Regions from separate parts of the Homo sapiens genome. Here region 1 is linked to region 2. The links are contacts of gene promoters, found by promoter capture Hi-C in human tissues and cell types (Jung and others, 2019). All regions are on one chromosome and are shown on one strand. Each heading gives the region's core, a stretch centred on a gene start or on the middle of the fragment in contact. The rest is flanking DNA. Distances are from core to core; before and after follow the strand shown.

The links. Contacts are between HindIII fragments. The study calls those that stand out against the background at their distance.
Region 1: the fragment with the promoter of TMPRSS6 here is called in contact with the fragment with the promoter of EIF3D in region 2 in 2 of the 25 tissues and cell types used here (mesenchymal stem cells and mesendoderm cells).

Annotation. Positions count from the first base shown.
Region 1 is chr22:37,108,055-37,111,003 of GRCh38, reverse strand. TMPRSS6 (transmembrane serine protease 6) reads left to right here and starts at 1,291. Exons shown (of 18, transcript NM_001374504.1): 1 at 1,291-1,501. RefSeq lists an enhancer at 2,560-2,949. The HindIII fragment of the contact is 35,568 bases long and covers 1-2,949 here.
Region 2 is chr22:36,527,755-36,530,686 of GRCh38, reverse strand. It overlaps EIF3D (eukaryotic translation initiation factor 3 subunit D), which reads left to right and starts at 1,521. Exons shown (of 15, transcript NM_003753.4): 1 at 1,521-1,611. RefSeq lists enhancers at 1,251-1,650, 1,961-2,010. The HindIII fragment of the contact is 12,569 bases long and covers 1-2,932 here.

The DNA.
Region 1 (2,949 bases), core at 42-2,541, 580 kb before region 2:
AAAGTCAGCCTTGTCTGAGACAGACGCCCGCTGCCCTGCACGCACCCTAGAAAGCCCTGGCTCCCATCCGGCACTTCGGCACGCATATGGCTCAAACCCATCTCCACAGCAACGCTGTTCCATAGAACAACAACGCAGGTCACACTTGTGACTTAACCTGTCTAATATCCACATGCAACAAGGGGTGTGGTGGCCCGCGCCTGTAATCCCAGCTACTTGGGAGGCTGAAGCAGGAGGATCATGTGGGCCCAGGAGCTCCAGACCAGCCTGGCAACCTAATGAGACCCTGTCTCTGAAAAAAAAAAAAACAAGAGAGCCAGAAGAAAATTGCTTTTAATAATACATTTTATTTATCCCATGATCACCAGTGTTATTTCAACATAAAATCAATATAAAAATTGTTATCGCGTTGGTTGACATCCTGTTTGCACTTGGCCTTGGAAACCTGGTGTGCGTCTCCCCCGTGCAGCTTTTCTCAGTTCAGACTGACTCAAGAGCCACGGGTGACCAGCGGCTACCGTCATGGACAGCACAGCGCTACGGAACCAGGTAGGAATTCATGCTGCGTGCGGTCGCTCATGCCTGTAATCCTAGCGTTTTGGGAGGTCGAGGTGGGTGGAATCACTTGAGGTCAGGAGTTCGAGACCAGCCTGGCTAACATGGTGAAACCCCATCTCTTCTAAAATTATGAAAATTAGCCGGGCATGGTGGTGGGCGCTGTAATCCCAGCTACCTGGGAGGCTGAGGCAGGAGAATTGCTTGAACCCGGGAGGCGGAGGTTGCAGTGAGCCGAAATCACACCACTGCACTCTAGCCTGGGTGACGGAGTGAGACTCCATCTTAAAAAAAAAAAAAAAAAAAAAAAAGAACGAGGTAGGAATTCAAATAATTCCCAGCTAAACAGAAAATAGCATCAAACCCCACCCCTGCCTCCCCTTTCTCCTCTCCAGTCCCCAGAGTATATGGGCCCAGCCTCCTTTTCTCTCTCTCAGGCCAGCAGCTCCTTTAGTCTCGCCTGTCCAGGTAAGCACCTGGACTCACCCTTGTGAGCCCCTGCACTCACCTGCACCGGCCTCTGCACAGTCCCCAGTCCTTGGCTGTCCCTACCTCATGCTCTCGGGGACCAGGGGCTGTAACCAGGCAGGCATGTCACCAGGCAACGGGCCTCGGGGGAGAGCTCAGATCTCCCGCACCTGCCTGCCAGCCTCTGGGGTGCCCATGCGGGGGTGGGGGAAGATGGGGCGGGGCAGGCACTGCCTTCTCCTACCTCCTGCCTGTTTACCTGTACTTAGTCACAGTGCTGTCCAGGACCCAGCAGGAGGAGTTCCATGGAGCCTGAGGCCACAGGCCACAGGGGACAAGGGCCAGACACCCTGGTCATGGCTCTAGGCCATTGATCCAGCCTGGGCTGGCTGGGTGGGGGTGGGGAGGCCTTGGCCTGGACAAACAGAGGCTCCTGAGGCCTGTGTGCAGGCCCGGCACCTATCTGCCGCTCCCAAAGGTAAGCGGGGGCCTCCAGGACAGGGGACCGGGATCTATAAATGACCTAGTGACAGTGTCCACCCTAAGAGCTGGGCCTGGCTCCCTGCAGCCTGAGCCACCTACCCTGCTCCGAGGCCAGGCCTGCAGGGCCTCATCGGCCAGAGGGTGATCAGTGAGCAGAAGGTGAGGGGCCCACAGAGCTGGGGAGGGGAGGGACCACGCAGGGTGACACCAGGTGTGTGGACAGGCACAGCATCAGTGCTGGGTGGTTGGTGGCCTGGGATTCAGGTGGCAGGGACAGGAGGAAGGGAGAGGCCACCCTACCCCTGCCTCGCAGGACTGGACATGCTGCCCCCTCCACACCCGGTACCCCACCTGGGCCTTCTGGTGTAGGAGACAGGCCCGGAGCCCCACATTGCACCTATGTACTGACTTAAGCCCAGGACCCTGGGCTCACAGGCTCAGAGTTGGCATGTATGTGTATGTGTGTTCGTGTGTGTGTCTGTGTAGGAAGGGCGTGCATCTATGAATTTTTGTGTCATGAATAGATGTGCGTATATCCCTCCGCGTGTCTCCATCTGTGTACATCTGTGGGTCTGTGAGTGTGTTTATATGTGTGGAAGGGACCCCCACCCAGTCCCCCACACTCTCAGGACTCTAGGGCCTAATGGTTTCACTGAAAGATGCCCCTATGGCCCTAGCCCAGAGTCCCTGCTCTGCTCTGCTCTGCCCTGGCTGAGGGACCTCGGGTAAGTCATGTTACCTCTCTCTACCTCAGTTTCCCCAGCCATTAAATAGAGTCAGCAAAGTAGGCACCCCAGGCTGTTGGAGGCTGCAGTGGAGTTTGCAGCACTGCCCAGCACAGGGCTGGCACATGGTAGGAGTTCATACGCAGTGGTTGAATCCGGATCTGCATTGCTGGGGGAGTCGCGGCCCCGCCCCAAGGAGCTCAGCCTCCAGCAGGCAGACCCGAGACCCTCCAATGGCCAGAAGGGCAGGAGGGAGTGAGGAGCAGGTGCCAGGGTGGGGTCCATGGTGCTCAGAGCTGGGGGACTGCTTCAGGCCCCTGTGGCAATTGGAGCACAGTCCCCGCTTCCAGGAGTTCAATGTGAGGGGCAAAGAGAGAGTGCCCACAGGTAAGCTGCACATCGCGAGGGGCAGCCGCCCCTTCTAGGGCACTCTGGGAGAGCTGCGAAGAGGTGAGGTCTGAACTGAGGTGACAGGGGCTGCATAAGAGCTGGCCAGGTTGGGAGGTGGGGGCCCAGGCAGAAGGAAGAGTGTGGGGACGCCTGGCCGTGAACAAGCACTGACAGGGCTCAAGGTCCACGAGGGCTCTTGGTGCCGGCTGGCTGCTCTTAATCCATAAATGTTTGCTACCATCCCATTGTTAAAATTTCTCACCAATGGAAGTCCAGTGTCCTTGGGGTGCGACGGGGAAAAGAGAGGGTGGGAAAAAAGGAGGCAGGA
Region 2 (2,932 bases), core at 272-2,771:
ATGAGACCCAGAATCTGAATTTTTAAAAATACTATCCTGGTCAGGTGTGGTGGCTCACGCCCGTAATCCCAGCACTTTGGGAGACCGAGACAGGAGGACTGCTTGAGCCCAGGAGTTTGAGACTAGCCTTGGCAACATGATGAGACTTCGTCTCCACAGAAGTTTTTTTTTTTTTTTTTAATTAGCCAGGCAGCCGGACGCAGTGGCTCACGCCTGTAATCCTAGCACTTTGGGAGGCCGAGGTGGGTAGATCACCTGAGGTCAGGAGTTCGAGACCAGCCTGGTCAGCAAGGTGAAACCCCGTCTCTACTAAAAGGAAAATTAGCCGGGCATGTTGGTACACGCCTGCAATCCCAGCTACTCGGGAGACTGAAGCAGGAGAATCACCTGAACCTGGGATGCGGAGGTTGCAGTGAACTGAGATAGCGCCACTGCACTCCACTCCAGCCTGGAAGACAGAGCAAGACTCCGTCTAAAAAAAAAAATTAGCCAGGCATGGTGGCATGCACCTGTAGCCTCAGCTGCTCCGCACGCTGAGGCGAGAGGACCACTTTAGACCAGGAGTTAAAGACCAGCCCGGGCAACATAGTGAGACGCTGTCTCTACAAAATTTTTAAAAATCATTAGCTGGCCGGGTACGGTGACTCATGCCTGTAACCCTAGCCCCAGTGGGTGGACTGTTGAGCTCAGGAGTTTGAGACCAGCCTGAGCAACATAGCAAAACCCCATCTCTACCAAAAATACAAAAATTAGGCAGGCGTGGTTGTGCGTGCCTGTGTACACCAACGACTCGGGAGGCTGAACTGGGAGGATCGCTTGTACCTGAGAAGTCGAGGGTGCAATAAGCCGTGATCCTGCCACTACATTTCAGCCTGGGCGACAGAGCGAAACCCTGTCTCAAAAAATAAATAAAAATAAATAAAAACACTGTTCCAGAAATCCCTGTCCTACAATTAAGTTTGAGAACTGCGGAAGTATGGTTTGAACTCTGGCGGTTAGAACCCTAAACTAACAGTCTGATCTAGGCAGGTCACTTGGCACTTCTGAGCCTCAGTTTCCACAACTATAAAGGCGGAGGAGTAACAATAAGGACCGCCTAAGACACCGACGGACCTCCCCTGCGCTGAGTTTCACATTAAGCAGGCAGGTAGAACAGGCGGGGAGTCGCGGGTGACGGTGGGATACATGGGGGCTGAGGCGCGCCGCGAAGCATTGTGGGACACAGAAGGGCGCCAGTCGCTCCCCGCCTCGAGCTTCGATTGCGCGGCCGCCAAGTTTCAGTGATGAACGCCCTCTTTGGGCGTCCCCGGATACCGCCTGACGTAGTGCCAATCACACCTCTCGCGTCTCGGCGCCTCGGAGGCTAATGAGGACGCCTGGCGAAACGCAGTAACGGATTTCCGGGTGGACCTTCGCTTTACGGCTCGTGAGTTCTTCCGCCCAACCCAGAGGAAGCGGGAGAGCAGTTTACGACAGCGCCGGTCGTGTTTACGGCGGCGCCCGCTGCGCGCGCATGTTTCCTCTTTTCCTGGTTTCTCAAGAGTGCTGCTGCTAACGCGGTCCCCGGCACGCACCATCTGTTGCCATCCCGGCCGGCCGAGGCCATTGCAGGTGAGCGGCGTGTTTCATAGGTTCCTGCGGCCCTCCGGAGCCGGTTCGGACTAGGTCCAGCCTTCGGGGGGCCTCCCGGAAGAGACCTCTCTTAGTCCCTTCCTGCTGTTGCCGTCCCTCCGCTGGGCGGGGCAGGAATCCACTTTCGGGGGCCCCGCGTCCCGCACGCTACTGAACGCGGGACACGACCTTGTGGGTGAGGTCCTTGGCCCTCGGCCCTGCTCAGTGCCCATGAGCTGGGTGAATTTGATTGTCACTTAACTCACCTGGGTTAAGACGGAGGGGTAACAACAAAGTCTTTCTGAAGTGGCCGAAAACTCCCTGACTTTTTGAGTGAGGTCTTAGGGGTACCAGGCTGAGCGGTGTTTGGCCCCTGTTCTTAGGAATTCACAGTGCATAGGTTATCTTTCCTTTTTTGTGAAACTGGAGGCTAGGATAGAGAAGTAGATTTGATCTCTGATCTTAAATCTACCCCACCCCCTGTTCAGCGATGGACGGCTTATGATCTGTAGTGGCCTGCCAACCACAGAGCCCCTTCTGAGTGCCCTCTTGGAACCTCCCTATCCTGCCCCTGTGACTAGTACAGCTGTTACTTCGTTTTTGCTGAGCGGCTCAGTTTCTCCTCCTGGTTCCGCTCTGCTCTTAAAAAAAAAAACATTTATTAAAGCCAGGGTATCTCATCCCTGGCTTTCCAGGGAGGTGATGCAGGTCGAGCCTCGGGCCTCTTCCCTTCTTGAGCTTCTGACAGAACCCGATTTTTTAAAGTGTGTTTTGAGACTCGTTGTCTTGGTATTATGATGTACGGTCTCAAACCCCTGATCTTTGCGGGCTGCTGCCCAGCTGTAATATAATGGAAAGAAGGCTGGACTGACAGCAGGCAACCCTGGAAATCAAATCTGTTTTGAAATGATGAGGTCAGCTGCTTGAGTAGGCTGAGCTTCAAATTTTTGCCTCTAAAGTAGGGGTGGGGGGGTGGTCAATGGTGTTAAATTATCTGGTATAGGGCCTAACACGTAGGAGCTCAGCAATATTTATTTAATACAAATTGTTCTGAGACCACCACCCTTTTTCTTCTGTCCTCTTCCTATAGTTTCTATTAGAAAGATGAAACTTCTAGGTTCATCCTGTGTTGCTGTCACCCAAATGTCATCTCTGAAGGAAGCCTCAATCTCCCCAGCATGGGGCTTTGAGGAGAGTTTACTAAGTTCAGCATACCTGTTCTTTTGATTGCTCTCCAGCCTCCAAGAAACATTTGATTTTTGTTTTTTTGAGACGGAGTCTTGCTCTGTTGCCCAGGCTGGAGTGTAATGGCAGGATCTTG